2 separate regions of the Homo sapiens genome follow, and region 2 is linked to region 1. Evidence: promoter capture Hi-C in human tissues and cell types (Jung and others, 2019). All regions are on one chromosome and are shown on one strand. The core of a region is centred on a gene start or on the middle of the fragment in contact, and the rest is flanking DNA. Distances in the headings are between cores, read along the strand shown.

Region 1 (5,527 bases), core at 998-3,497:
CACGCCTGTTTCCAAGAGAGGACCAGCTAGGCCCAGCCCTTCCTTTGACACATTCCTCCAGCTGCTGCCTGTCCTTATGGAAACACATGGGAACTTTTCACCATGTTCAACTTCACGACTTCCTTCGGTGCTTTCACTGGGGAGAACCTGCGTCATGGCACTTGCTTGCACAAGGGAGCCCTTTAAGGGCCTCAGCTGGTCTCCATTGGGTTGACATGAGGACAGCCCCTTGTCTGTACCAAAGTGAGATGTAAGGGACCTACATCACCAGCAGCCAGCAAATGCATCTTTTAAAAGGCCTCTACAGATTTCTGAGAGAGGAATTTGCTTCCACTCCCTCCTCAGGAATCAGCCCCTTCAGTGCGGTAGGGTCATCCCCCCACTCCTTCCTCCTCCATACTTAAGGCTCTGCAGCAAGGGCTCAAACCCTCGCTTTTGGCAACTGTGTGACCTTGAGCAAGTCACTTAACCAGTATCAATCCCAGTTTCCTTATCTCTAATTTGGGGTATATAAATAAGAACAACTCGTTCTTAGAACTGTTGTGAATCGGAGTGAGATAGTGCAAGTAAAGTATTTTACACAGAGCCGGGCATGTAGTAAACCAACAATGAATAGTAGCTTCATTTTCATCATCAATAATGACGATGATGGTGGTGGTGGGAGGGTAAACTTGGACCCGATTCGAGCTAAAAGCAAGCACCCCTTCCCCCTCTCCCCCTCCCAAGTGTATGGCTGAGCCACACGGTGGAGACACATGCGTCATCCGGCTGAGGGGTGAATGCAGGCTCTTCTGGCGGCGGGCTCAGGAACCGCCAGGCAGTGGTGTCCTAGCTCACCTGGAGGGGTCGCGGGGTGAAGCAGATTTTCTGATGGGGGAGGTCCAATAAACTACAGACCCTCTCTTTCTGTATACCCACTCAGCAGGTATGGAAACTGACTCGTGGCCAAAGAACGCCAGCTGCATCCCTCCCCCAAGGAGCCAGGACAGCGTCCACCATGCCCCTGACTCAGTTCCCCAACTCTCTCTCGGGTGCAGGCGAGACTGCGCTGCACTTAGTGGCGGAGATAACAGGTTGGCCAGCCAGGCCTGAGAAACGTCCCCCCGCTACCTTGCGCAAACCCAGCCCCCTCTTCGAAACGCAGGTGGGCAAACAACCCTCAACCTCGCAACAACTTTGTGTATTTCACCGCCACCACAGGGCGCACGGCCTCAACTTCTCTTCACTGCGCTCCGAGGAGGGAAGCAGGAAATCGAGAATAAGGGGCAGCCCACAGACCACCCTCCTTTTCTCGGGGCGCCCCCCAAAGGCGCGCCCTGCCTTACCTTGTCTGACGGCCTTGAAGGTGACGGCCTCCTTGCAGCTGTCGATGACCCCCAGCACGTCATAGCGGGGCAAGCCGGACACCCGGACCCCCTGCACCTCCAGAAGCAGCTCCCCTTCGCCCAGCCTCGGGCCCTCGCCGCCGCCGGGAAGCCCCGCTGCCTCGACCGCCGCCACCGCTCCGACGTACGGAAACTCCCCGTGCTCCGCGCCTCCCAGCACCGTCACCCCCAGCTCGCCCTGGGGTCCCCGCTTCACGGTGCATTCGTGAACCCTGCTAGTCCAGTGGTTCTTCTTCTGGATCACTTTGGACATGATGAGTTACACCCCTCCTCCAAAAAAATAAAACGAGAGACAGGTGCCCCCCACAGCACGAGCCCCCAAGCCTCCGCTTGTTCATGGGAGAAACATCTCTCCCCAAATCACAAAACAGGAGAGAGAAACTTGGCAGCCTCGCTCCCCTGCACACGCTCGCGCACTCAAGCCATCATAAAACAAACTTTCTGGGCTTCCCCGCGAGCCCCGCACAGGCGCCCGCGAGCTTTGTTTGCATTCCGGTGCCTCTGGGTCCACGTTCCGGCGCCCGCCCGTGCTCTCCCGGACCAGAGTCCACTCTGCGCCGCTCGGGTTATTTTTTTTTCCTTCCTTCCTTTCTCTCTTGCCTTTTACAAATGCGGTGCCTCCTCTTTGCCTCCCGCCCGGCTCGCCTCTCCTCGCTGGCAGGCTGTTACTGAGGGTGAGGGAAGCCCTTCCAGCCAGTTGCCGGGAGCCCTGAAGACGCGGTGGCGGGGCGGCGGGGAGCAGGGCGGGAGGTAAGTGCTCGCGGCCCCTTTAAGCAGATACAAAGGCTCGGCTTGTTTTGTTACAGTTCATTCTATTCCGCGCCGCGGAGCGCAGCGGCCGGCGACAGGAGACGCGCGCGCATGCGCCCCGCGGCCGCCAGCCGGCCGGCCCACCCCTCCCCTCCTCCCCGAAGGGAGAGATTCCAACGTGCTTCCCGATGGGTCCTAAAACCGACCTGCCGGGAGAAGGCAACTCCCCCCCAACCCTTCCTGAACCCCTATCCTCTCTCCTTTTCTTTCAGTGCCCTGGACTCCGCGGATTCCTTTGGGGCTGGAGGGCCGCACACGTGTTTTACTCCAACTGTTTGCAACTTTTGAAACCCGGGCAATCTGGCTTTGGCATTTGAAAACCATTTCAAACAGGTGGGGGTTGGGGAGGCTGCCACACTCACCCTGGCGCTCACACTCACGCACACGCGCACGCACTCGCGCCGGCCCTAAGCCTCCTAACCGCCCTCGGCCAGTGGCTGGCCAGGCTGTCGGTCACCCAGCCCGGCTGGTTCGCCGCCCCCCTTGCCGCAGGTCCCACTGAAACCCCCGAGACCCGCCCCGGGGCGCTCGCCGCCTCCCTGCCTGCCCTGCGCTTGCGGGTTCGGGTCCTGGCGCGGGGTCTGCCAGGGTCTCTGCGACCCGGGGGAGGGGGACGGTGGGATCCTCCGGTTCCCCAACTGGGATCCCTGTGCGGGTCACACGCGCTCTTACACACACCCGCATCCTTAAACTTTGGGACCAACTTTTTAGGACACGGGAAACTACAGGCAAGAGAGAGAAGCCATGGTGCTAGTGTGGGTTCAGGTATTCAACCAAAAAAGAGATCCCTCTAGCTTTTCAACTGCCCTGCCAGCAGAGACTGCTGGACCCAGTCAATCATCTGCCCCGGCCTCAAGTTCCTGGCAGGGCCGAGAAGCCTGCGGACCTACTCCGGGGCCAGGAGATAAGGATCCCCGCCGGGCGCGGACATGCCCTGCGTCCTGGCGCCCGCGGGGGCGTGAGAGAACTCGGAATTCGCAGCCCGGGGGTAGCTGCGGCCTCCGGAGGTCGCCCGGGGGTGCGGATGGAGTGACTTCTGTCCCGGCGAGGTGGCGGACAGAAAGACTCCCATACCACAGGAAGGCTGCCCTTCCCAAATACTCCTCAAATCAGGCTGCTGAGTAGTCTCCCCAGCAGTTTGTTTTCCTCTTTAGTGATGTATAATTTTGTTCATCTTTGGTCACAGGAGAGATTCCAAGAAATGAGGGGGGTACGTTGAAACGATGAAGAAAGGATGGACACAGCAGTCGAGGTTGAGAGGTAGGCTCAGGGGTCCACCCTTGTGTGACCTTGAGCAAGCTTGGTGACCTCCGCGCCTCCGTTTCTCGCTGATCAAATAAGTAGAACAAGACCTCACAGGGTTCTTGGAAGTATTACGTGGGAAAACACTTATAAAGTGGCAAATAATAAAAACTCATTATATTCTTAATAGTAGTATTACTATTTGGGAAGAAAATTGGGAAATCATTTGGGGATTCAAGTTAGTAAGTATGATAATTTATCCTCTCCTTTCTAGAACTTAGAAAATATGGGCATACTTTGTGTGTTTGTTTTTTGATGGTGGTGGTGGTGTTTTTAGAAACGTGGTCTTGCTTTGTCCCCAAGCTGGAGTGCAGTAGCTCGACTAGCTGATTGTAACCTCGAACTTCTGGACTCAAGCAATCCTACCACCTCAGCCTCCTGAGTATCTGGAATTATAGGCACATGCCACCATGCCCAGCTAGTTTTATTTTTTTGATTTTTTGTAGACATGGGGGGGTCTCCCTATGTTGATTGCCCAGGCTGGTCTCAAACTCCTGGGCTCAAGCCAACCTCCTGACTCAGCTTCCCAAAGTGCTGGGGTTATAGATGTGAGCCACCATACCTGGTTTAGGCATACGTTTAAACATCCTTTTAAAGCATTGTAGGGTGCTATTCTAAGCTAATAAAAGTAAGGAGGGATGTTGATGCTTCTCTCTTGGGATATCCAGAACTGAAAATCCCATTGCATTGTTGTGTTTCTGAAAAAAGGAGGTGACCAATTTTCCATGGCTTTGCTTGGTGAGAGGAACTTTGTCTCCAGCTTTTTTTCAGAAGCAATCTAGGTCAATATGAACAGCACTTCAAAACATAAATTATCAAACCCGAGCACAGATCCAGCCAATCAGAATGTCAAGGAAGGGCTAAGTCATTTGAACTTTTAAGGTTCCCCTTATGTGTTGTTGGTACACAACGCTGAGCACCATAGGTTTAGTATCTTGATTCCAAAGCATTGTTTGGGTCCCAGACCTTTTTGTCAAATAAACCTGTGATCCACATCTCTGTGTAAAATAAAAACTCAAGGAGGTCAGGACACTTTGACAGTTTGGTTTACTGATGTATTATTCCCAGTTCCTAGAATGGTGCCTCGTACTAGCAAATGCTAAAATATTTGTCAAATGACTCTTTCCACAAAAATGTACATTTTTACTTTCCATGTTAGTGGGGAGTCACAGATTCCCCTGCAAATCATTAGTAAGCTTAGTAAGCTTAGCCTTGTGTGTTTCCCCACTTTGCCACTTCATATTCTAGTAAAGTGTAATTGTTTGCTAAGAATACCCACAACCAACCTTGAATTAGGAGTCCCCTACCTCTCCACTCAACTCTCACCTCTGCCTGGGGGAGTCCAAGGGCTGGACAAGACCAGGCGTTTTGTGATTCCTCCCAATGCAACAACATCCCCCTCTTGCCAGGATTCCAGGTGTCACCACAGCAGCTGAGAAAGGAAAGAACTTGGAATTTAGCATACGTCAGGTTTTAGATGTGGAAAAGCCCCAAAAGAAGGAGTAGTACCTGTGGGCACAGAGGGCAATATGGAGAGAATAGACATTATTCTAATTCAGGAAAAGGAAAAATAATTTGAACCTTCAAAGTAGCCAAGGCTGCCAGTTTCCAGGATGCTCCCTCTGCATCTTCCCGGCTGGTGTTTCACCTGGTCTAGTTCCTGTGTCCCAGACTGGAGAAGTTCAAGGCAGAGATCATCTCTCTCCTATCCAACCTTTGAAACCTCAATACCAAAAACCATGAACCATGCCTTGTGTGGAGTGTGCACCATACACAGTTGTTGAGTGAATTGATGAAGTGTGACATGAAATTGTTGAATAAATGGATGAAGTATGACATGAAATTGTGTAATATGTGACCTTTGATCCAAAGCCAGTTTAGATTTGGTTGCCAAAACAGGGGTATTTATATTAGGTTGGTGCAAGAGTAATTGCAGGTTTTGCCATTACTTTCAATGAAAAGAGCTTATAGTTATGTCATTGTGAAGTAGATTTTTCCTGAATAGATCTAAGATCCTAGTATTCTGACTT
Region 2 (5,527 bases), core at 995-3,494, 77 kb before region 1:
ATTGAGACAAGGTCTCCCTATGTTTCCCAGGCTGGTCTCAAACTCCTGGACTCAAGTGATCCTCCCATCTCAGCCTCCCAAAGTGCTGGGATTACAGGTGTAAGGCACCACGCCCATCCTAATGTCTTAATGGACAAATAAATAAATTCTCTCTTTTTTTTTTTTTTTTTTTTTTTTTGAGACAGAGTCTCACTCTGTCGCCCAGGCTGGAGTGCAGTGGCGCAAACTCGGCTCACTGCAAGCTCCACCTCCCGGGTTCACACCATTCTCCTGCCTCAGCCTCCAGAGTAGCTGTGATTACAGGAGCCCGCCATCACGCCCAGCTAATTTTTTTGTATTTTTTAGTAGAGACAGGGTTTTACCGTGTTAGCCAGGATGGTCTCGACCTCCTGACCTCATGATCCGCCTGCCTCAGCCTCCCAAAGAGTTGAGATTACAGGTGTGAGCCACCGCGCCCGGCCAATAAATTCTCTTTTAATACTAGCAACAACAGAGACAAGTATCTTTCTGTTCTTGTCAAACCAATGACTGCAGCTCTGTATGTTTCCGGAGTGATTTAAACTTGCCAGATGAGCTTTTAGCCAGTCAAACTGATTTTCCTTTGAGCCTAGATTCCTCATGTGGAAAAGCTCCCAGAAAAGCTTGACTAGATAAGAAAAAAGTGATGTCTAGACAATTCTGCGTTAGCCTTCTGCTGGGAAAACCTCCAGCTGTTTCACTGAACCTCATACAACCAAATCATAGTTCACATTTCACAGATTCCTCACCAGGGTTTTGACATCTTGGGGGAAAAGAACTGAAGAAGGGTGGGCAAGACATCTGACTATAGGGCGGTTTCTAATAAAGCAATAAGTACAAACAATTCCAAGAAAACTAGGATGTCACTGGTCCCTGTGGTCACCAAACAAGAAGGATGTCTGTCCTATGTAAGGACACTGAAGAGGGGAAAAAGTGCGTAATCCTAATTTAATTATAATATTTTTTCCTATAATCAGAGAGGAGAAAGTCACCCAAGCTTGAAGCCAAAATTATAAATTTCATTGTCCACACAAATTGTACAAGATTTCCCTTGAGCAGACTGCAGGGAGGTGGGCTCTTGTTATCCTTCCTTCCTTTCAACTCTTCCATTTCTGTCTGTAATTTCCCCACCTTTGTTTCCATATAACTTCACCATCCTTGCTCCTATATGGCCACAAAGAAAATTCTGAGAAAAGAGTTGAAATACCCCAGTTAAATAGATTCCTTCCTTGTCTATTAAGAAGACATCACTCTTATTTACTTTCTGTACCTTGGCTCTAAGCTATAAGTTCATCTGTCTTTTCTATGCTATAGGCAGTACAGAGCATGGGCCAGCCTGAAATGGCAGGCCTGCAAAAATTGATATGCCAAATGAGAAATAAGAAAACTTGCTTTCAACTAACATGAAATCCCGGAATAACCTTTGAATTTCCATGACACCATTCATCTAGGGATAAGAGGGGAAGGCAGAAGGGGGCATTCCTGTGTCCATTTGGTGTACCCCTGCAACAGGCTATTACCACTTACTGCAATGCATTAAAGGTAGGACAGACAGCTAGGAAACGAACTGGTCTCTGTCCAGTCGAAGAATTAGTCAACACAAATCTACAGAAGTCACCTTGAGCTTGGTACTATCTACCCATAATGCATTTCCCCTCACCTCTTTAAATTCATTCAGTTATTCAGCCCCTCCCTTCCTGGGTGGTAACTACAACTGTTATTTTCAACTCCAGTTCCTTATGCAACACTGCAAAATGCATAACTGAACTGTACACTGTTAACTAAATAGATGATCAGTATAATAAAGAGTCCTCATGTAAATTAAGGAAAACATGTAAAAACCCCCCAAAAATCCACTGAAAAATCATTTGTGCATTCAACATAGAAAGACCCTTAAATATGCTATGCAGGGTATCTTAGAAAATAATATTAAAATGAAGCCCTCTTGGAGAAACTAATGACTTGTTTTTAAAGGTCTAGTGAGTGCCTAGATAGTGCCTTACTAAGGCATTCCGCAGAAAACAGGGTTCCTTGTATTCAGCGCAGTCAGGAGGTGAACTGATATCAAAGAACCACATCCATTCGTGTCATTTTACACGTTTCAAGAAACAAACTTTCCAATAAAGACAGACTCCATTCCTCTTCCCCCAACCTTCCTGTCAGGCTTCCCTTAATAAAGTTTCTGCCAGATAAACATCATGAATGTTCCATTGTGCTGAGAAGAAAGAAGTTTACAGCAAATTGCTTGGTTAGAGCTAAGAGTCTGGGAGCCACCTGAGCAAATCAGCTAAGTGCTTTGGAAAAAGCTATTTCCAAATTGGGACAGCTTCCATGAAGTGACTGGGCATAGTCTTCATGAAGAGGTTGTTTGTCTCCTCCTATCCGTCATATCAGTAGTTTCAAGATAAGAAGAAAGCATATTTGGACTGTTTGTTCTCATGGACATTAATCTGATTGTATTTTTTTTTTTTTTTTTTTTGACGGAGTCTCTCTCTGTCGCCCAGGCTGGAGTGCAGTGGTGCGATCTCCGTTCACTGCAAGCTCTGCAGTGGTTCACGCCATTCTCCTACTCAGCCTCCTGAGTAGCTGGGACTACAGGCACCCGCCACCATGCCCGGCTAATTTTTTTTTGTATTTTTAGTAGAGACGGGGTTTCACCATGTTAGCCAGGATGGTCTTGATCTCCTGATCTCGTGATCCACCCGCCTCGGCCTCCCAAAGTGCTAGGATTACAGGCGTGAGCCACCGCGCCCGGCCTCTGAATTGTATTTTTCAAGTGTACTAAAGTTCCTCCAGGAACTACACACACAACAAATGTACTTTCCAACTTGCTTATTTAGGAAGATCAGCTTTGTTACATCAAAACGTCCATTAGAAAGTCATGACACTGGCCAGGCGAGGTGGTTCACGTCTGTAATTACAGCACTTCGGGAGGCTGAGGTGGGAAGACTGCTTGAGGTCAGGAGTTCAAGACCAGCCTGGCCAACATGGTGAAACCCAATATCTACTAAAAACGCTGGGCGTGGTGGCCCACATCTGTAATCCCAGCTACTCAGGAGGTTGAGACACAAGAAACACTTGAACATGGGAGGCAGAGGTTGCAGTGAGCAGAGATCATGCCACTGTATTCCAGCCTGGGCAACAGAGCGAGACTCTGTCTCGGGGGGAAAAAAAAAAAAAAAAAGAAGCAGAAGAAAAAGAAGAAGAAGAGGAGAAAAGAAAAAGAAAGTCACAAAAAAATGAGCAGAGAAATTAGGTTTTACCTCAAGTGTCAGCAAAAAAAAAAAAAAAGTTAAAACAAGATGAGTTTTTTTTTTTAAACACTGCATATAAAACAATGAAGTAATTTGTTCAGAGAGTTCTGCTGTTAAAATAATGACAATCTGGCCAGGCGCAGTGGCTCACGTCTGTAACCCTAGCACTTTGGGAGGCCAAGGCAGATGGATTGCCTGAGCTTAGGAGTTCGAAAACAGCCTGGCCAACACAGTGGGGAAAAAAAAAAAAAATTAGCTGGGAGTGGCATTTGTAGTCCCAGCTACTGGGAAGGCTGAAGCAGAAGAATTGCTTGAACCCGGGAGGTGGAGGTTGCAGTGAGTCGAGAGCGCACCACTGCACTCCAGCCTGGTCAACAGAGCGAGACTCTGTCTCTTAAAAAAAAAAAAAAAGTAGCTCGGCCAGGTGTGGTGGCTCACGCCTGTAATCCCACCACTTTGGGAGGCCAAGGTGGGTGGATCACAAGGTCAAGAGATCCAGACCATCCTGGCCAACATGGTGAAACCCCGTCTCTACTAAAAACACAAAAATTCGCTGGGCATGGTGTCATGCGCCTATAGTCCCAGCTACTCAGGAAGCTGAGGCAGGAGAATCACTTGAACCCAGAAGGCGGAGGTTGTAGTGAGCCAAGATCGCGCCACTGTACTCCAGCCTAGGTGACAAAGCGAGACTCAGTCTCTAAATAAATAAATAAATAAAAATAATGACAATGTAATGTAGGATGGGCAGTTTGTAACTTTTCTATAATAATTCTTATATGATTTTAAAAGGGCCCTATGCGAACTACTTTAACATGCACTATTTTACTTGAAATCGCACAACACTCCCAAAACAGGAGAAAAATTTCATAAAGACAGAGAGCTTTGCTTGTTGTATACATTTATTTATTTCAAGATTTGGCACAATGCCAGGGATAGAGTGGTACTTAATGATATCTGTGGACTGAAGGTCAACACTTTTTCATATATTAGACAAATACAGCTCATAATGATTAAGAAATTTGTCTGAGACCACAAGGCTGGGAAATGACTAAGCCAAGCTTCCAATGAAGGGCAGTGAGTCAGATTCCTGAGTCTAGTTCATCTAATATAATTGTTAAGGGTGTTAACATTAATCTTTACTGCATCACATTTCTGCAAGGAAGCTTTGAGCCACCATCCTGAAGACTGAGAAACCAACACAATTTTAACCCATTAAGCACAGCAACTGCCCTGCCCTGTCTTTCAATATCCTGTCCCTGTCTCATTCACAGTGTACCTCTGCCCCCAGTAATTACCTTAGCGTCAGAGATCCACAAACAAAAACAATGTTAAGACTTGAGAGAAGCCAAACCACTCACCTGCTGAGGTATGGCAGCCCTAACTGTGGGAGTATCACCTCCCTACTGATATCAAAATCAGACCCTACAAAGGAGAAAGAAAGGTCATCTGAAATCACCTTGACACTCCAAACAGGGACTTATATCTGTGGGTCAGAGAGTGAATGAGTCATAGAGAGAAGAACACTTCATAGAACAGGGCATGAGTCACTGGTTCCTTTCTTATTGAGATAGAAAGAAAGGTATATCCTTTTATACATCTTGGGGGTAGTGCGGGGGCGGGGGGAACCACCATCTCTTTCATTTGCTCCCATTCTCATAGCTCCATGAACTGTCCACAAGTTATCACCGGTGAGTATGTGGTTCTCTTTTCAAGGCAGGGCTATCGCCCTTAACTTCCACTCCTCTCCAAACTTCAGGTTGTTTAGCACTAACTCCACTCAGACAGATTTTTTGAGCAGCTGCACACCTTTGTCTCCCTGACCAGAATCCCCAGGAATCATGCAAATCCTCAGGCATATCCTAGGTTCACTTTCAGGGGATTCCCTGAGGATGCCCCTTTTTTATGTTCAACAGCCTTAGGAAGCCACCCCCAAGTCCAACAGATACACAGTCCCCTTTTTGTGGATGTCCAGGCCACACAAGAAATGGAAAGAATTTCAATAAGAAACTCTCCCGGAAACTATATGCATATGCATATCTACTTCTAGGTACTGATGATGCCAAGGACTCTTTCATAAAGACAAGCACATTCGCCAAAGCCCCAAGGCATAATTAGCCTTGCTCTAAAACTTTCCTAAGTGGCCAGAATCTACTGCATATATTTTTCTTAGCCAAGAAACAGATGTAGAGTATAAATGGTTTTCCACTGAGTACCTTCAAAACAGATGCAACTATTTGGTAAATGTTCCATCTGCC

The links. Contacts are between HindIII fragments. The study calls those that stand out against the background at their distance.
Region 2: a fragment that was not itself captured here is called in contact with the fragment with the promoter of MAGI1 in region 1 in 3 of the 25 tissues and cell types used here (aorta, pancreas and spleen).

The regions. Positions count from the first base shown.
Region 1 is chr3:66,036,671-66,042,197 of GRCh38, forward strand. MAGI1 (membrane associated guanylate kinase, WW and PDZ domain containing 1) reads right to left here and starts at 2,248. Exons shown (of 23, transcript NM_001033057.2): 1 at 1,326-2,248. The coding sequence starts at 1,638. It overlaps LOC105377128 (a long non-coding RNA gene), which reads left to right and starts at 2,283. Exons shown (of 2, transcript XR_001740440.2): 1 at 2,283-2,528; 2 at 3,382-3,624. RefSeq lists enhancers at 1-435, 436-1,263 and a silencer at 2,216-2,335. The HindIII fragment of the contact is 7,387 bases long and covers 1-4,093 here.
Region 2 is chr3:65,959,646-65,965,172 of GRCh38, forward strand. The region is part of intron 1 of MAGI1 (membrane associated guanylate kinase, WW and PDZ domain containing 1); the gene reads right to left. Among named protein-coding and RNA genes, the nearest start is that of MAGI1-IT1, 7.9 kb to the left of the region's middle. RefSeq lists an enhancer at 4,139-5,338. The HindIII fragment of the contact is 4,275 bases long and covers 108-4,382 here.